Linked DNA regions of Homo sapiens: regions 2, 3, 4, 5, 6 and 7 are each linked to region 1. The links are contacts of gene promoters, found by promoter capture Hi-C in blood cells and fetal thymus (Javierre and others, 2016). All regions are on one chromosome and are shown on one strand. The core of a region is centred on a gene start or on the middle of the fragment in contact, and the rest is flanking DNA. Distances in the headings are between cores, read along the strand shown.

What was found. Contacts are between HindIII fragments. The CHiCAGO score rates a contact against its expected background, and 5 or more counts as called.
Region 2: a contact is called between a fragment that was not itself captured here and the fragment with the promoter of SGO1 in region 1, in 1 of 17 cell types (fetal thymus). The highest score is 7.7, in fetal thymus.
Region 3: a fragment that was not itself captured here is called in contact with the fragment with the promoter of SGO1 in region 1 in 1 of 17 cell types (fetal thymus); the score reaches 7.4 in fetal thymus.
Region 4: a fragment that was not itself captured here is called in contact with the fragment with the promoter of SGO1 in region 1 in 1 of 17 cell types (fetal thymus); the score reaches 6.5 in fetal thymus.
Region 5: the fragment with the promoter of OXNAD1 here is called in contact with the fragment with the promoter of SGO1 in region 1 in 4 of 17 cell types (fetal thymus, monocytes, total CD4 T cells and 1 more); the score reaches 14.3 in fetal thymus.
Region 6: a contact is called between a fragment that was not itself captured here and the fragment with the promoter of SGO1 in region 1, in 2 of 17 cell types (total CD4 T cells and naive CD8 T cells). The highest score is 9.1, in total CD4 T cells.
Region 7: a contact is called between the fragment with the promoter of NR1D2 here and the fragment with the promoter of SGO1 in region 1, in 6 of 17 cell types (naive CD8 T cells, naive CD4 T cells, activated CD4 T cells and 3 more). The highest score is 10.5, in naive CD8 T cells.

The regions. Positions count from the first base shown.
Region 1 is chr3:20,184,862-20,187,541 of GRCh38, forward strand. SGO1 (shugoshin 1) reads right to left here and starts at 1,345. Exons shown (of 8, transcript NM_001199251.3): 1 at 1,087-1,345. SGO1-AS1 (SGO1 antisense RNA 1) reads left to right here. Exons shown (of 4, transcript NR_132785.1): 4 at 1,114-1,254. RefSeq lists enhancers at 1,063-1,742, 1,763-1,822. The HindIII fragment of the contact is 754 bases long and covers 869-1,622 here.
Region 2 is chr3:15,201,688-15,204,367 of GRCh38, forward strand. It overlaps the pseudogene COL6A4P1. Among named protein-coding and RNA genes, the nearest start is that of CAPN7, 3.2 kb to the right of the region's middle. RefSeq lists an enhancer at 1,080-1,129. The HindIII fragment of the contact is 163 bases long and covers 1,350-1,512 here.
Region 3 is chr3:15,595,534-15,598,213 of GRCh38, forward strand. It overlaps HACL1 (2-hydroxyacyl-CoA lyase 1), which reads right to left. Exons shown (of 17, transcript NM_012260.4): 3 at 851-891. Among named protein-coding and RNA genes, the nearest start is that of HACL1, 4.7 kb to the right of the region's middle. The HindIII fragment of the contact is 4,835 bases long and covers 1-2,680 here.
Region 4 is chr3:15,860,906-15,863,585 of GRCh38, forward strand. The region is part of intron 1 of LOC107986064 (a long non-coding RNA gene); the gene reads left to right. Among named protein-coding and RNA genes, the nearest start is that of MIR563, 12 kb to the right of the region's middle. The HindIII fragment of the contact is 497 bases long and covers 1,065-1,561 here.
Region 5 is chr3:16,263,903-16,266,582 of GRCh38, forward strand. It overlaps OXNAD1 (oxidoreductase NAD binding domain containing 1), which reads left to right and starts at 1,310. Exons shown (of 9, transcript NM_138381.5): 1 at 1,310-1,603. It overlaps DPH3 (diphthamide biosynthesis 3), which reads right to left and starts at 1,041. Exons shown (of 3, transcript NM_206831.3): 1 at 867-1,041; 2 at 253-327. The coding sequence starts at 974. RefSeq lists an enhancer at 873-1,182. The HindIII fragment of the contact is 2,642 bases long and covers 1,208-2,680 here.
Region 6 is chr3:23,961,588-23,964,267 of GRCh38, forward strand. NR1D2 (nuclear receptor subfamily 1 group D member 2) reads left to right here. Exons shown (of 8, transcript NM_005126.5): 5 at 390-1,018. Among named protein-coding and RNA genes, the nearest start is that of NR1D2, 18 kb to the left of the region's middle. The HindIII fragment of the contact is 534 bases long and covers 1,060-1,593 here.
Region 7 is chr3:23,943,927-23,946,606 of GRCh38, forward strand. NR1D2 (nuclear receptor subfamily 1 group D member 2) reads left to right here and starts at 1,360. Exons shown (of 8, transcript NM_005126.5): 1 at 1,360-1,668. The coding sequence starts at 1,653. It overlaps LOC124909354 (a long non-coding RNA gene), which reads right to left and starts at 1,254. Exons shown (of 2, transcript XR_007095845.1): 1 at 1-1,254. It also overlaps a transcript of NKIRAS1 not described here. RefSeq lists silencers at 1,224-2,413, 1,910-2,451. The HindIII fragment of the contact is 14,696 bases long and covers 1-2,680 here.

The DNA of each region.
Region 1 (2,680 bases), core at 95-2,594:
CATGTCAAACCACTTTTCACAAACATCTTTTACGCTAGATTGCACTTTGCAGATCTTAAAATTGCAAAAAAAAAAGACTTGTTTCCAATAACAATCTATGCACAGAATTTTCACTACAAAGGATATCTTCATCTCCTCTACGATAGTCAAATATTTTCCTAAACCTTACACTTAATCTTGAGTATTTCCTCCAGGCCTTATTTTCCTCTATGCAGTGTCTGGAATCTTAAATATAGGTATTGTAGATACCACTTAAGAACTTTCTTTCTACCAAGGTATATACAATATGTACTGGGAGGTTCCTAGCAGAGATAGGGTAGCTATTTTTAAAAGCACGAACGGTAAAGGGGTTGTTTTACACAATTAAGTTAGAATTGGAGATGTTTGAGAGTCATACAGATTAAGTAACGGATCTAGTTTAGTTAAGGTATTTTAAAGGCAAAGCCTTACCTAAAAAGCTTTCGTTATTACTTTTAATCAAGTTAAAAATCACAAAAGAAACTTGCCATATCAAAAGTTTTATATCCTGTCTAAATAAGGCGATGGTTATTAGCAGGGGGTGTGGTAGACAGAAGGGATGAAAGCAAAGACAGACCACAGCGCGAGATGACGGTCTCAATCTGTACAGTACTCGTGTAAGCGCTCTGGATTTAAAGAACCTAGCATATTTGATCTCCGTCCATAATTCTCCAATTAGTCCTGCTGCGAAGACAGCCAGGTAGGATACTAGTCAGTGCCGGCCTCTCCAGGGTAAGTGAGGAAGAGAATGGCCTGGACAAGGAGGACGTCAACGGTATCACGCTGCACAAAGAACTGCTGTCAATTTTCTTGTGTCCTTACGTTGAGCCAGGCTTTTAGCTATTGTAAAAGCTTTATTTGCACATCACTTAATCTACACAATTTTGCAAAGTAGGAAATTAGGGTCTCCATGGAAGCCGGAACATCTGAAAGCGCAGATCGAGTGGCTGAACGGCGAAAAGCGCGGCGAGTGGGACTCCACGGCCCGAGCTTTCGGCCACCGAATTTAGAATGATACTGAAAACCGAAGGGAAGTCAAACAGGGATCACTACGCCCTTGTTTCGCACCTTAAAACCTACTTCTTCCTCTTTCAGGGACTCCAGGAAGGCCGGGGGGAGGTGGGGCTGGCGGAAGTGGACGCGGCGACCCTCCTGCCGCAGGCGCGTCCAGAACGATACCTTGGCCACTACTTCTGCAACAGCTATCTTCCTCCTCCTCACATTTCAAGGCTCTTCGAAGCTCTCCAGCCACGGCTAGCCCCGCGCACTGGGCCCTCCAGGACCGTACCACCGTCCGCCGTCGCCTGGAACTACCGCCGCCACATTCGAAATTTTCCGCCTCGCTCCTCCATTGGTTGGCTGGGAGGCGGTCACGTGGCGCAGGATGCACCCAACACCACCGTCGCAGGCAGAGTCCCGCCCCGCCAGGCGACGTCACGTGACGCACATTCGCTCAAGTCCACATCCGGGCATCCACCTGGCCCTGGGGCGGAGCCTGCGGTCGGGTCTCGGCGACCCGCCGGGACTTTCTAATCAGAGTCGTGGGGATTTTACGGGTGGAGTTACTCCGAAACCTTTAAGGCCGAGTGTGATAGGTAGTTCAAAGCTTCCTGTTTCTTCAGTCTGACAGCTTCAAATGTCCCGGGTTGTGCTCAAAGCCTCCCTCTTGTGAGAAGAATCTCTTTGGTTGCCTGTTAAAGCGGTCAGCCAGCTTGCAACACGGAAGCAGCTTTTAGAGGAATTAAAACCAAAACAAGGAGCAAATTCTGGATTAAAAAGGTATTAGGGAAACTGCAGATACCTGAAAATTCTAGCTCCATGTTTCTCTTTGCCGGCTATCTCTGGCTCTTTAACTCTTCTCGAGAAATGGCACCAACATCCATCCAGTTACCGACTAGAAGCCTGAGAAATCGTCCTTAATGATTATTTATCCTCTCTTAACCTTTGCCCGTCCAGTCGGTCACACGATCTTCTCAACTCTGCTTTCCAAGTTTCTCTCATGCCCATCTTTTTCCCCCCAATCCAGCTTCCAGCCTAATCTCATTCCCTAAATTGCACTAGTACCCACTCTGACCGCAGACTCCACTCCCTATATTCTTCATAGATTAATATTTTTACAAAACAAGTATCAAATAGGAAACTTTACAATGGCTCCCTATTGCATTTAAGGTGAATTTCAAACTCCTTTAAGATATTTTGTCCTTAAAGAGCCCCATGATTCCTGGTTCCATCACTTGTACATTTTCTTTAATTTTCTTAAAATTCTTGCCACTTTTGCCAATGCTGTTCTGTCAAGAACACTCTTTCCCTTGGCCGAACTTACTCCTATGTATACTGAAGTTTCACTGTACAGATGAATTCTTCCAGAAAGACTTATCTACCCCTAAAGCCCCTGAGTGTCTGCTTTACACTTTCTTAGTGCCCTGCATTTTCCCCTTGGTATTCCTTGTGACACTGACTTGTCGTTCATTGCCTGTTTCTTGAAGTTGAATAAGGGCAGGAACTACATCTGCTTTGTTCATAGCTAAATTGTCAGCATCTCGTTGCAATTTGAAGTAAGTAGTAAATATTCACTGGGACAATAAAGGAACAAATAAATGAAAACGAAACAAATGTTTTGAATCTAGGCATTCTTTATGAAGGTGTGTTGTTGTTTTTTAAA
Region 2 (2,680 bases), core at 181-2,680, 5.0 Mb before region 1:
AAACATTTCACTGGCCAGGAGTGGTGGCTCACAATTGTAATCCCAGCACTTTGGGAGGCCGAGGCGGGTGGATCACCTGAGGTCAGCAGTTCGAGACGAGCCTGACCAACATGGTGAAACCCCATCTCTACTAAATACAAAAAACTAGCCGGGCGTGGTGCCGCATGCCTGTAATTCAAGCTACTTGGGAGGCTGAGGCAGGAGAACTGCTTGAACCCAGGAGGCGGAGGTTTCAGTGAGCTGAGATTGCACCATTGCACTCCAGCCTGGGCAACAAGAGTGAAAACTCTGTCAAAAAAAAAAAAAGGGGGAAAACATTTCACTTTATTTTTACTTAAAAGTCAGTATTTTTTACACCAAGATTTAAATTTCTGGCTTCTCTTGATTTAAAAAAATATATTGGACCTACGTTCCCTTGAACTGTCTAGAGCTAGTAGTAACTGCCCCAACTCACTTCTTCCTAAAATTTGCTTCTCAAATTTGCTCCATACCTTGCCTCAGGGATGGTGCTGTTATCTCTAAAGAGCCCCAGAGAGCCCTGGACTTGAAAATTATTGTGCTCTTCAGGGATTATGGTAGATATTTATTTATTTATTTTAGATGGAGTTTCGCTCTTGTTGCCCAGGCTGGAGTGCAATGGCGTGATCTCGGCTCACTGCAACCTCCGCCTCCTGGGTTCAAGCGATTCTCCTGTGTCAGACTCCTGAGTAGCTGGGATTACAGGCGCCCACCAAAATGCTTGGCTAATTTTTTGTGTTTTTAGTAGAGACAAGGTTTCACTATGTTGGCCAGGCTGGTCTCGAACTCCTGACTTCAGGTGATCCACCTGCCTCAGCCTCCCAAAGTGCTGGGATTATAACCTATGCCTCCCTGGTTCAAGCAATTCTCCTGCCTCAGCCTCCCAAGTAGCTGGGATTACAGGCACCTGCCACCATACCTGGCTAATTTTTTGTATTTTTAGTAGAGATGAAGTTTTGCCATGTTGGCCAGGCTGGTCTCGAACTCCTGACCTCGGGTGATCCACCCACCTCGGCCTCCCAAAGTGCTGAGATTACAGGTGTGAGCCACCACACCCGGCCATGGTAGATATTTTAATGAAATGTTTGTTGAAAGGATAAAGTTGTGACCACAAGCCCCTATGAGGTAACACCTAGCTGCAGTGCCACATATGAACACAAGGTGACAGTGTGCTCTCAGGAATCTGCATAAACCCAGCACAGTTGGTGAGGATCTGTAGTAAATAGGATGACTTGTCCCACCCAACTGTGAGAGAGGGCAACTACCAAAGACCAACAGCAACATAGCATGTGTCCTAGAGGGTCACAGGGGAAAAAACTAAGAAGGAAGGAAGCTTCAAGGCCAGGGATCCAGCACAGCAGAGATGGGACTGCAGGGAGGGAATTTAACTCACCCCTGTCTTTGCTGTCCTTAGCATGATCCACTCTTCCCCTGAGTGCTGAATTTCAAGGCCATGAAGCCATGGTCAAGAGACTTGACTGGGAACGGGCCTTAAGCTTTCAGTGACTCCCTTCTAAATCTAGAGCAGTGGTTCTCAAAGTGTGGTCTCTGCACCAGCAGCATCACTTGTCAGAATCTGCAGAAATGCAGATTCCCAGGCCCTGCCCAACCCTACTGACCCAGGCATTCTAGGATGGAGCCCAGAAACCTATATATAATCAGATCCCTGGGTGGTTCCAAAGCAGCTAAATGTGAGAAGCACAGCTCTAAAGTCTCATTTTCCATCTCTTCCCACAGCCACACCCAGTGAATCCCAATCCTCAAAATACACGGACCTCAACACTCCTGCCTCTAGTTGAGACTGAAACATCCATCTCTTCCTCTCCTGCTTTGCTCTTATTCTGCCTTTGGGACTCAACTCAAGCCACCTTTCTTCTGGAACACTGTGTTAGACTCCCCAAGCTGATTTAGGTAGTGCTCCTCCCAGCCTCTGCCTTCTCTCTTTTAGCAATTATTAAATGATGCTTTTAACTGTTGGCTGCTGAATGTCTTGCTCACCACAGTGTGAGCTGTCTTTACCTCCAGTGCCTGGCCAACAGAATTTTGCATATGTATTTAATGAAATAATAAACTACCATCATTTGGTTGGCAGCTTTAAAAAGGGTAATAACATCTTTTTCACCTACAGTAGAATTTTATATACACACATATCCTAACTTAATTTTATATACATATTTAAAATATATAGAATTAAATATAATCTTAATAGATTCCATATGTAATTATATGCAGATTATAAGCTCCCTGCAAGTCTAAATTTCAAAACTATGCTCTGCTGTTTCTGACATTTGTAGGACAGGCCAAGGAATTCAACAGTCAATAGCAATAGCCATTTAACCAAAGGGAAAAAAAAAACCAACAAGGAGCTTCCTGAGCAGGGGTGTGTGCAGACCAGTGCCCTCTCAATGTCTGTCTCCAGGTCTCATCCCTCTCTATGTCTGTCTCAGCTCTCGGTGGGGGAGGGCTCCCAAGCTGCAGGATGACGACATGTTGACTATGCAGCTCTGAGTGCTTAACATTGGACAAATTCCACTGTCACAGAGCTGGCCTAAGGTGGAGGTGGTACTGGACATTCTGGCAGGCATTCCACAAAGGCACATGTCGTGAGTCTCCACCACCAAGTTCTCAGAGTTTTTTGGATAATTGATGATCACAGAATACA
Region 3 (2,680 bases), core at 88-2,587, 4.6 Mb before region 1:
AAAAAACTGGAAGAAAATGACCAATTCTTAACAGTTCTGAGATCATAGGTGATTTTCTTCATCTTTTTTCCTTTTTTTTTTTTTTTTTTTTTTTGAGACGGAGTCTCACTCTATCACCCAGGCTGGAGTGCAGTGGCGCAATCTCAGCTCACTGCAACCTCCGCCTCCTGGGTTCAAGCCGATTCTCCTGCCTCAGCCTCCCGAGTAGCTGGGATTACAGACGCATGCCACCACACCAGGGTGATTTTTGTATTTTTAGTAGAGATGGTGTTTCACCATGTTGGCCAAGCTGGTCTCAAACTCCTGACCTCAGGTGATCCACCTGCCTCAGCCTCCCAAAGTGCTGGGATTACAGGCGTGACCCACCGTGCCTAGTCGATTTTCATTTTCTTCTTTGTGCTTTCTATATTTTCCAAGTTTTCCAAAATGGACATTTTAAAAATGTATTAATTTTTAATAATAAAAAGGGGGTGGTAGTTAGGTAACATGGATACACACTAAAAAATCAGAACGTGTGGAACAGCTCTCAACAGTCACATTTTGAACCAAGCATTTTTGTATTAAGTGTGCTGGGGTAGTTGTGAGATCCAAGACAAGGTATCATACATCAACTCACTATCTGATCACCAGTGATTCACTCTACAAAATGGCAATGTGTTCCACTCTGAAACACTTCTGGTATCATTATTCTTTTGATGTGGTCCTCAGAGAGTTTTAAATGTTTTTTATCCTTTGTTATTTAATATATTTTTCTATAATCTTTCCAAATGAACTCATCCTTCAGCTGAAAGACGTAATAGTTCTACCCCAAAATATTAAAGTAATTGAAGTGAAACAAATTTTAGTTTACCTGCTTGTCAGATATCCAATCGCGGAGGCAGCATAACAAGCCTACGAGAAAACAACACTGGGACTTGAGCATATTGGGATCCTTATAGTACATTTATGACAGCAACTTACTATTAAATAATAGACAAGAACATAGTGGTAAAGGCAGAATTAAAATATTTCCAACCTTAGTAATAAATGTTCTACACATAAATTTCAAATAATGGTTATCTAAATTTTAGTTTTTCAGGAAATTTGTTCATATGTATGTTATTCAAAACATCCTCTTACAATTGCTTAAATATCTGCAGGATCAATAGGAATGTCCTCTTTTATTAACAATATTGGTAATTTGTTTTCTTTCTTTTATTCTTCATCAGTCTCATGAGGGGTTTATCAAATTTATCCATCTTTTCAAAGAACAAATTTTTTTAGTTCTTCGAAAATTTTTGTTGGTTTTTCTCTATTGTTTGTTTTCTATTTCATTGATTTCTGTTCTTGTATTTATTATTTCAGTCATTTTGAATTTGATTTGCTTTTCTTTTTCTAGCTTCTTAAAATACAAATTTAGAACACTGGTTTTTAATTTTCTTTACTAATAATTTGTTTAAAATGATTCCAAGAACTGCTTTAGTTATAGGTTACAAGTTTGAGTTGCATCTTTTCATTATCATTCTATTCAAAATATTTTCTACTTTCCATTGTGATTTCTTCTTCAACCCATTGGTTAATTAGGATCTGTAGTGATACCTCCTTTTTCATTCCTGACATTGGTAATCTGTTTTCTCTTTTATTCTCAATCAGTCTATCTTGAAGTTTATTCATTTTGTTAATCTTTTCAAATATTTACAAAATACCAAAAAGTATGTTGCTTAATTTCCAAAGGTCTGAGATTCTTTTTAGTGATCTCTTATTGAGTTCCACTTTACTTCCACATGGTCAGGTGACATATACTGCACGCTTTCAATCCTTGGCGATTTATTGAGATTTCCTTTATGGCCTGCATATGGATAGTTTTTACCTTGTAACTCTACTTCAGCTCATAATCAGGAAGAGAGGGGGCACTAAATTAAATGCACACAAGATAACCTGGGAAAATGCTGAGTGCTCTCTCAAATTCTTCTTAGTCTGGGACATCATTTTTTTCCCAGTATTATTTCTTCTCATTTCTTTAGAAATAATAATGAATTGCGTATTTCCTAGCCTTCATTCAGCTTTAAATGAAGTAGTATACTGTCTTAAAGAACTCCACATTAACGACATAAATGTGGAAAAAAAAAAAAAGGAAATGTTTATGGATCATAATCTTAACTGGCTCTACTATCATACACCCACTGAGAACCTGCACAAAGACTCTGCTCTTTTCCTGTGTCGCTATTCTCTACTGGCCCCATCTCTCTTTCCTTTTGCACATAAGGCCAAATTCACATTAGGAGAATAAGACAACTCCTAAGAAATGCAGGCATGTAAATACCTGCTGCAATAAGAACACTTTATTTAGACACCCAAAAGAATTGCCCACTTATGATAGCTAGGTAAGAAATGTTGCTAGGCAATGCAAAATATACAACAACACGTAACAAAAAGTATATTCCTCTGGTAGGAAATGTCAAAAGTTGAGAGGTAACTGTTTTGTTTTGTTTTATTTTGTTTTGTTTTGTTTTTTTTTTTTGAGACAGAGTTTCGGAGTTTCGCTCTTGTTGCCCAGGCTGGAGTGCAATGATGCAATATTGGCTCACGGCAACCTCCACCTCCCAGGTTCAAGCAATTCTCCTGCCTCAGCTTCCCGAGCAGCTGGCATTACAAACATGCACCACCACGCCTGGCTAATTTTATATTTTTAGAAACGGGG
Region 4 (2,680 bases), core at 63-2,562, 4.3 Mb before region 1:
TGTCTCTTGGGATGGACTTTAGAGAATCGATTCGAGCCTAATGGCAGTCTAGAGAAATGGAGATCTTCGTCAGGACTATCAGATTATTGTAATGCTGCACTTATAACAAAAAACTTAGATTTAGCCACGCAAAAAAAAAAAAAAAAAAGAAAATAGAGTGCAAGATAAAAAAACACACCTGATTAACTGATAGTACGACCCTTCCAATATTCTTTGAGATATCCATGCTATGGTTCCATTGAAACAATTTCTTACCTAAAATTATGTCCCTCGTCATGATATTTTCTACTTAAAATGGAGGAATTCTCATAACTGTGATCTAACCGTCATAATGAGGCTAAAAAGGAAATCAAACTGCTCTTGCTTTGCATTCTCTTCAGTAGCTCCTTTACCCTTTATTTCAACTCCAGCAGATAAAATAGAGATACTATTTGTCACCCAACCCCTCCTTATCAGTTCAGTGAGGGTGAATGAGTTAATGTCGTGAAAGCACTTGAGTTCTCCAAAACAAAGATGTTGTGATAATATTACTACAGTACTTTGTGATTACAAGTTAGCTTTGTAAATAATTACCAATGTGCCATATCCAGTCGTGTTCTATCTTGGCCTAGGAGTGTTAGGATTTACCCTCATTTATAAGTAAGCCTGTTAAGCACTATGGATGTTGAGCCAGGAATTAATATAGCCCTCCTCTTCCCACCAAATAATCTCTCCTCTAGGTTAAATTTCTAGAATTTAAAAACACAATGAGAACCTGATTAGGAACATGGCAAAGATGATTTTTTGGGAGAATGTAAGTGTGTTTGAGAGTATGAATTTATGGACTAAATATGCATTTTAATAGATTTTGTGATTGAAGCTAATGAAACTTTCCAGGACTCTTTTGAAATTTTCTAATTAACAGTAATTAATGAAAATGTTTTATGATGTACCATCTGCATTATAGTAGGCATGGAGCTCTCCTTATAGATGATGCTTCACACCTAGCTGGGTTCTCACCCTTCTGCACCATGAGCACCATTTAACTTCTCTGTGTCTCAGTTTCAACATTCATAAAAAAACTAAGCTTAACATTTCCTGGCCTACTCATCTCACACCATCAGATAAGATAGTGATATGAAAGGCTGTGGAAAACTCTGAAGGACCATTACACTATATTATTATTATGACAGCAATTACAGGGTACTTCAAATGTTTGTGGGAAATAGAATTAAAGGTTAAAATTGAAATATAAACTTTATTTCTCAACATACGATTTGTCAAGTTCAAGATGATAAGCAATGATACCAGCCATTTAGTTCATCCTTAAAGAACCGAGGGTCCTGGGAATTCATGTCAATGCAGTCTTTTTTACAGTAATAATGTAATGTTAATAACAGAAGAAAAATGCATGCCTTTTAAAGAATTGTTAAGATTAGGAAACAAAAATAAGTCAGAAGGAGCCAAATTAGGAGTATGAGGTGGATGCCTAACGGGTTTCCATCAAAATCCTAACAAAATTGCCTTTGTTTGATGAGAGGAATGAGCAGGAGCATTATGTTGGAGAAGGACTCTCTAGTGAAGCTTTATTGAACATTTTCCTGCTAAAGCTTTTACTAACTTTCTCAAAAATACTTTCATAATAAGCAGATGTTATCATTCATTGTCCCTCCAGAAAGTCAAGCAAAATCTCTTGAACATCCCAAAAGACTGTTGCCAAGACCTTTGTTCTTGACTGATTTGCTTTTGCTTTGGCTGGACCCTTCCACCTGTTGGTAGCCATTGCTTTGATTGTGCTTTGTCTTCAGGATCATAATAGTAAGGCCATGTTTCATCTGTTAGAATTCTTTGAAGAAGTGTACGAGTGTTTTAGGGTCTTGACCCTACTTGTTTAAAATTTCTATTGACAGCCTTTCTCTTGCCTGAAACTGATCTGGGCCCAATGGTTTGGGCACCCATTGAGTTGAAAGTTTGCTCAACTTTAATTTTTCAGTCAGAATTATGTAAGCTTAACCAATTGAGATGTCTGTGGTGTTGGCTCTTGTTTGTGCGGTTAATCGTCAGTCTTCTTCAATTAGGATACAAACAAGATATTTTCCTCACAAATTGATGTGGATGGTCTGCCACTGTGGGCTTTATGTTTGACATCGTCTTGTCCCTTCTTCAAATGAGTTATCCATTTGTAAACTGCTTATTTTGGGGGGCAGGGGGCATTGTCCCCATAAACTATTCATAAAGCATCAATGATTTCACCATTCTTCCACCCAAGCTTCACCATAAACTTGAGGTTTGTTCTTGCCTCAATTTTAACAGAATTCATGTTGTTCTGATACGGGCTCTTTTCAAACTGACGTCTTATCCTTCTTAGTGCTGCAAACTGTATCCTGTTCAGATACATTATAACAAGTTAATATAAGTTTATGTTGGTGAAAAAAAATTGAAATCCAGCGAGACACAGTGGCTCATGGCTGTAATCCCAGCACTTTGGGAGGCCAAGACAGGTGGATCACTTGAGCCCAGGAATTTGAGACCAGCCTGGCCAATGTGGCCAAAGCCTGTTTCTACTAAAAATACAAAAATTAGCCAGATGTGGTGGTGCGTGCCTGTAATACCAATAATTTGGGTGGCTGAGGCACAAGAATCACTTCAGCCTGGGAGGCAGAAGTTGCAGTGAGCCAAGATGGCACTCCAGCCTGGACAA
Region 5 (2,680 bases), core at 60-2,559, 3.9 Mb before region 1:
ATTTAATAAATAATAATTTTCACTAAAGCTAGATTTATCTCTAAAGCTAAAATAAATTACGTAATCTGAACTTTAAACGTTTTAATTTACTATTCGGCTGTTTATCAATGGTGTTTAAAACCTGCCTAAAAAAATACCGCACTTTACCTAGCACAATGAAACATTCTCCTGCACTCATCACTGACAAGCTGATCTAAGTCCTTGCCACTGACTTACAATACCCTTCCCCCGTTTTAAAATTATATCCCTTACTTTGTCATAAATCACTTTTATAATGAGAGAGCAGCTAGGACACGTTGCCACGTCTTCCCCATTCTCCAAATCTTCCTACAACGAAATCAAATACCATGTGGTCAGGATAGCTTCTCTTCGCCATCTCCTCCCCCAAACCTATCCCACCCCTAGATGCAAGTCTCTTGGTGGCTTGCCTTCCCCCCAAGGTGGGTGAGAACCCCAGGGCCTTCAGCGAGAAATGCCGACATCATTTTCCCCTAGAAGCGTCACTTAGGGGAAACACCTAGGAAGGTCAGGCGAGCTTCGGTCGCCCCAAAAGCCCTGGGAAACAAAAAACGAGTCCCCTCCTCGACAGAAATATCCCAGGTTGGGACCCTAAGGCAGGGATCGGGCAGAGAGACAGAGGCTCTCCGCCACCCTCTCCCTGACCTAATCTAAGGCCAGAACTGCGTGCCTACCGAGAGAGCTCAGGGCATTAGTTGGGGTGGGGGGACGCGGGAGGAGGAAGATTCAGCAACGGGAAAGAGGGCGTGGGTGACACAGCGCAGCAAAGGCTACCCAATGATGGAAGGAACGGGCGGAACCAAACTGCGCTTGCTTGGGTGAACCGCCGGGCGGGACCCTGAAGTTACCTTGGTGATGGAGAAGTTATCTCCACATGGGCAGGGATAGAAATACGTCTCCGAGTCCTCGTCATATTGGAAGTCCTCGATTTCCACCTCGTCATGAAACACTGCCATGGTCAGCGGGGGTGGCCGAAGGGGTAACGCCCCAGCAGTCCGAGGCCAGCTCCGAGGGTTTAACTTCGCCGGAACCGGCCTGGGCTCGGCATCATCAGGTCGCGCCGGGCAAGGACTAGCCCTTCCGGCGCATAGGCAATGACGCAACTCCGCCCTGCGCGGCCAAATGGATAACCGGTAGCGGTCACCATGGAGATGGCTGAACTAGGGGCGGAGACACTGGGAAGACTGAAAGCTTGCTCAGCGGGGTCGCGCACCGCTCCTCCTATTGGGCGGCAGCGACCAATAGAATGTGGGGCTCGCCCGCGCTGCTACGTCACGTCTGGGACCGCGGAGTATTCCAGGCGCCTGCAACTAAACGTGGCCGGGTCTGCAAGCTAGGTGCCAGCGGGGAAAGTTTCCCTGCTTCTTATCGTCTGCTTTAACGCCTTAAATAGCCCGCTGAAGGCTGCAGCAGGTGCTAGGTAGCAGCCTCCCGGCCCTCGGGAAAGGCGGGGTGGGGAGGCGAGAGCAGCTTAGCCTCCTCGACCTCCCTTCCTGGTGACGGACGAACAGTTCCCGTAGAATTTCGCTTCACCGAGTGACCTTGAGCCCAGGGCGACGGTCAGCTTGTTAATTCCTGGCTGCAGGTACATTCCGCTTCTTCCTCACCCCAGACGCCTTAAAATACCCTAAATTGTGTTGCTGAAAGGACCAAGCCCTGGAAGGCAGGGATTGAGTTCTAGTCTTCTGTTTGCCAGGCTTATAACATTATTAACGACGATGATTTTTAGTAATAGTAATAACATCACCTTTTATTATTGGGAAGTTATGTGCCAGCTATTGCACTAAGTGGAATTGTCAACTCTAGGAGTTTACATGTTATTCCATTTTATTAATCTTTAAACTGAGGTACAGAGAGTTGGGCATCTTGACTAAAATCATACACCTGGGAAATAATGAAGAGCTTGTCTGTCTCCAAAGCCCAGGAACAAATTACTTATGTGAGTACCAGTTTTTTCGTTGTGAAAGAAATGGTGTCAGTAGGCAGGTTTATCAGTGTGAGGCCTATGTATGCCTTGAAGCGAAATGCAGATAAAAGGCATTTTTGTCTTGAAAGCAGTGCTAGTGCCTGTTTTGGTAAAACCGATTACATTGGGTCTTACTTAATTACTAGGCATTTTAATATCTTAGTAGAGAAGAAATGCATTGTAGTGAAAAAGCACTTTCGAGAGAAGATCTGGGATCGGAATCTTGAGTTGTTGATTACCTCTGGCAACTGGATATTTACATTCTTTGGGCCTTATTTCCTCTTCTAAGAAAGGATTGGAGTAGAGATGATATAAGATCCTTTTTAGATGTAATGTTCCACTTTTGCACGGAAATTATGAGCTTTACTTGGTTCAGCAATGATATATAACATTTAGTTTACATTTACGTAACACATATACATAATATATCCCTGTGCACTTTTGAAGAAAACATTACAATGACTACTAAACTTTACATTTATTCCTAAAAGGGCGGATCACGAGGTCAGGAATACGAGACCAGCCTGACCAACATGATGAAGCCCCGTCTTTACTAAAAAATACACAAATTAGCCAGGTGTGGTGGTGTGCCTGTAATCCCAGCCACTCAGGAGGCTGAGGCAGGAGAATCTCTTGAACCTGGAAGGCAGAGATTGCAGTGAGCTGAGATCACGCCACTGCACTCCAGCCTGGGCG
Region 6 (2,680 bases), core at 77-2,576, 3.8 Mb after region 1:
GTTTCACCATATTGGCTAGTCTGGTTTCGAATTCCTGACCTCAGGTGGTCCACCTGCCTCAGCCTCCCAAAGTGCTGTGATTAGAAGCATGAGCTACTGCACCCATCCGAATTTCCTATTTCTTTTCTTAGACTTTGCTTATAAAATACCTAGGAGGTAGATGTCCTTAACTTTGTTGTGGGGGGAAAATAGAAAATTTTCTCTCCCTCTCCTACTTCCTTTGGTGCATCAAGACCAGCAAGTTTAGAAAAATGTGGACCAGAGACATGTAGACTCATTCTTTATATGTATGACTAGAGGCCATAACTGTTGGATAATTTTGTGTTATTCTTTTATACAAAACAGGTCTTATTTAGAATATAGACGTTAAATATCTTTTTCTTCAATAGCTGTTCGGTTTGGTCGTATTCCTAAGCGTGAAAAACAGAGGATGCTAATTGAAATGCAAAGTGCAATGAAGACCATGATGAACAGCCAGTTCAGTGGTCACTTGCAAAATGACACATTAGTAGAACATCATGAACAGACAGCCTTGCCAGCCCAGGAACAGCTGCGACCCAAGCCCCAACTGGAGCAAGAAAACATCAAAAGCTCTTCTCCTCCATCTTCTGATTTTGCAAAGGAAGAAGTGATTGGCATGGTGACCAGAGCTCACAAGGATACCTTTATGTATAATCAAGAGCAGCAAGAAAACTCAGCTGAGAGCATGCAGCCCCAGAGAGGAGAACGGATTCCCAAGAACATGGAGCAATATAATTTAAATCATGATCATTGCGGCAATGGGCTTAGCAGCCATTTTCCCTGTAGTGAGAGCCAGCAGCATCTCAATGGACAGTTCAAAGGGAGGAATATAATGCATTACCCAAATGGTCATGCCATTTGTATTGCAAATGGACATTGTATGAACTTCTCCAATGCTTATACTCAAAGAGTATGTGATAGAGTTCCGATAGATGGATTTTCTCAGAATGAGAACAAGAATAGTTACCTGTGCAACACTGGAGGAAGAATGCATCTGGTATAGTGAAATCGATTTTTTGCTTACATTGTATCAGGGAAAGCTTTGAAAATTTTCTTTTATTCGGGAGATATGCTAACTTGGGGGGATGGTGTCAGGAAACCTAAGAAATTTACAGACTTAATTTTGTACAGTATTTTAGGTCAAATAATTTTAATAAACATCTTCTGATGAATGACCTAATTTCACACCCAGCTAGGTACAAGCATGTGATTTGATTGATCTGAGATTGGGATTAGGATTTTATGTAAAATATGATTCATGCAGAATTGGTCCTTTAATTCTTGGAAATCCCTTTGAAAATTTAAGCATTCTGGTTAATTAGTACCTTACTAGCTTTGGGATTTTCTCAAAGGGCCGAACTTTTCGCTTGCCATAGTTAGAAATTCTTTGATTTCTATAGAAAGAGGTTTTTTTTTTTTTTAACCATTATTATGCAAGAAGGTCTTTGGATATAGAACATAGATGTTTTATTGTTTGATAAATTTAGGAGTATTTTAATTTCATAGGCTAATTTCTAAGGATTTTCTCAGACTTCATCTTATGAGATGACTTAATGTTGGTCATATCATTGAAGCTTTTCTATTTTTCCATCAAATACGACATTCTACATCAAAGTACAGTGTTCATATTCAGCCAAAATTTCACCAAAAACAGCAGTACCACACCATTTCCAGTTTAAACCATGAAGTCCTTTGATAGTGCTTGGTATTTTCTACTGACAGGTAATTAAAGTCGTCTTTTTCATTTTCAAAATAGTTGACTCTACCTCAATCTTCATTAAAATTTTTGTTGTCACTTGGAGTTATTTGATTCTGTGGACCTTATGTTAGGCTAAGTCGTTGCTTTTTTGTTTTTTTTTTTGAGACATTCTTGCTCTGTTGCCCAGGCTGGAGTGCGGTGGCGCGACCTCAGCTCATTGCAACCTCCACCTCTTGGGTTCAAGCAATTCTCATGCCTCAACCTCCCAAGTAGTTGGGATTACAGGCATGCATCACCATGCCTGGCTAATTTTTGTATTTTCAGTAGAGACAGGTTTCACCACGTTGGCCAGGCTGGTCTTGAATTCCTGGCCTCAAGTGATTCACCCACCTCGGCCTCCCAAAGTGCTGGGATTACAGGCATGAGTCACCACGCCTGGCCAAGTGGCTGCCTTAATGAAGGAAAAATCTGTGGGCATTTTGGTTCTGATTTCATGATATTCTCTATGGTTTTGTAATCATCCCATTCCTAGATTTTGTATGGATTTAGTGAAAATTTAAAGGCTGATTTTACTAATAGAATATACAGGTGTGTTTCATCATCTTTTTGGTGTTTTTTTTTTTTTTTTAATAACTTCTTGGCTTCCTATTTTCCCTCACGCAGTCGTCATTTAGAAGACACACCTGTATCTGCAGTCCTTGTTTCCTGATTGAACAAGTAGAAGTCAGTGATCACAGCATTGTTTTTGAAATAAATGGGCAGTGACTTTTTTTTCTTTTTTTTTTTTTCGAGACGGAGTCTCACTCTGTCACCCAGGCTGGAGTGCAGTGGTATGATCTCGGCTCACTGCAACCTCCGCCTCCCGGTTCAAGTGATTCTTCTGCCTCAGCCTCCTGAGTAGCTGGGACTACAGGCGCAAGCCACCACGTCTGGCTAATTTTTTTAATTGTTGGTAGAGAC
Region 7 (2,680 bases), core at 110-2,609, 3.8 Mb after region 1:
TTTTCAGCAGAGTAATCAGATCTTATTTACATTTTAAAAATAATACTTTGACTGCTGGGGAGAAGTGACTGTAGGAGGACCCAAGAAGCACTCTCCTAGTTAGGGAACCAGAGCAGTAGCTGAGGCAAGAGATAATGGTTTGCTCTAGCAATACCAACGGTGAGAAACAGGGATTGAACATATTTTGAAGGTAGAATAGCTCAGACTTGCTAATGGATTGAATGGAGAATAAAAGGCTGTGAGAGTGTTAGGAGAGAAACATAATTTTGCTGGCTTCAGGAACTTGCAGATTTACCAAAACAGTAAATATTGATATGGTGAAGAAACCTGGGGGGTGGGGAAATAGGGTGTTGCACATGTAAATATGTCTTCCACGTGACATTTTCCCCACCTTCTATAGTGAAGAATTTCAGAGCAAACTGGAAAGAGTTTTACAAGCAACACCCATATCCCCATCGCCTAAGTTTAACATCTTACCATATCATCTATTCATGCCTCTATCAGCCCATCTTACTTCAGTAATGCGTTTAAATTGCGGGCATCAATGCACTTTCCTCAGAATTCACCTCAGCACGCATACAATTTATGTCTAGCTTTTTTCTTTTGATCTAAAATTTACATTCAAGGTGAAACGCCCAGATCTTGACTGCACATTAGCTGAGTTCGGACACACGCGTACACCCGTCTAAAATCTGAGATGCAAAAAAGCGGCATAATCAAACGGGCTGCTGGATGTAGGAATCTGGAGATTAGAAGAGAGGTCTTGGCTTGAAATATAAATCTGGGAATCACAAGAACATAGGTCTACTTAAGCTATGAGATTGGATAAAATCACCTAGAGGGTGCAGAGGGAAAGGGAAGGGTCTGTGCCCTCAGAGACCAGCGTTTGGAGGTCGGTCGGGTGGGAGCGGGGGGTGGGGGTGGGGGGCGCAAGGGTTGAGCAAGCCCGAACCAGCCGGCCCAGCCGGGGTCCTGAGAATCACCCTTGCTCGGCGCCAAGCCACCGCTTTGACCTAAGAGCCACCAGGTTGGGGGGCAGGGCGTGGAGAGGACTCCCGGCCAGAGGCGGGAAAGGCAGCCGGGAGGAGAGGAAAGAGGAGGAGGAGGGGAGGAATATGCGGCGGAGGGAAACGGAGAAGAGGTTTACGGCACGGAGGGGAAAAACGAAGGAAGAGGAGGGGCTCGGCAAGGAGAAGGAAGGGGAGAAGGGGGAAGCGCAGGAGAAAAGGGTAGCCGGGGAGCCGGGAAGCGGGCGGGAGGGAGGGGAGCGGCGGGGCGGAGGTCGCCGCAGCGGCCGGCCGAGGGCGGGCGGAGGGAGGGGGTGTGTGCGCGGGTCACATGGTCGCGGCTGCCCTCCCCGTCAGCCGCCCTCGCCGCCGCGGTGCGCTGGCTGCAGGAAGCCGCCGCGCCGCCGCTTTTGTTGTCAGGGACCCAGCGAGGAGCGCCGCTCGCCGGCCGCCGCCACCCTCTCTCGCTGCAGCCTGCTGTGCGCTGCACGGCCTGGGGCCCGGGAGCCCCGCCCGCTCTGCCCATGAGGGGGCCCCGCGACCACCGCTGCTTCCAGCCCGGGGCGGCGCGGCGCTGAGGCGGCGGCGGCGGCGCTGCCCCCTCTGCGGGAAGCGGGCGGCCCCGGCCGCCTCCGCGAGGGCACCATGGAGGTGAATGCAGGTAAGAACCGGACTGCGGCGGGTGGGGGATGGCCGGAGGGAGCGCTCAGAGCCCGCGGGGCACTTTGGGGGGCGGCGGCAGGGGGTGTCCCCATGGCCGGTGGGGCGGGGTGGGCTGCTGCGCGCCGCGTGTCCGCCTCTGGCTCGGTTCCCATCGCCCCCCGGGCCGCCCGGCGCCCGCCCTCTTGTCTCCCTGCAAAGCCGCAGCGCGGCCTGCCGGCGCCCGGCCCGGCCCCCCCCTCACATGGCCCGGCCGCGCGAGCCACGTGCGCGCTGTGTTTACGTTCGGCGGCGCGCGGGCGCCGGTTGGCTGGGCGGGCGCGTGACGCGGCATTACATAATGGGCGCTGAGGCGGCGGCGGCGGGCGGGGACACGTGAGGCCGCTCGGCTCCCTGACCCACATTCCCCGGGGCCGCAGGGACACGTGGGGGCGGGGGCGCGCGCGCGCGCGCTGGCTGGGAGCGCCGCAGCCTCCCGGGAGGCTCCGCCCCTTTGGAAGCCTCGGGGCAGTGACGTCGCCGCGATTCCCTCCTCCCCCGCGGGGTTGCACACTGCGGAGGAGGCCGCGCGTGCGCGCCCGCTGAGCCCCCGCGGCGGGGCGTCCCCGAAGCGGGCGCTGACACCGCAGTGCACCGGACGCCGCACGCTCTTTTCGCGAGGTGACCCCAAGGCGCGGACCCCGCGCAAACCAAACGAACCGGCGCCTGGGGAGGCTGGTAGCTGCATACCTTGCAGATTCCGAGGAGGAAGTGCAGGACGAGGGCGTGCTGCAGGCCGGAGGAGGCGCCTCGGGGAAGGCGTGGGGCTTTCCCGAAGGGATACGCTCGAAGGAGCTCTGAGGTGCTTCGATCCCGAGCGACTCCCCGCAGACTGGGTAGCACCGCCCCTGTTAGGATGCCGTCTGTTTACAAAAAAAACCGTTTGCTCTAGGACGCGACCTGTCTCATACACACACAGTCTTAAAAACTGCTTCCAGATCCCTTCGGGCTGGAGTTTTCCAGTAAACGGGTCA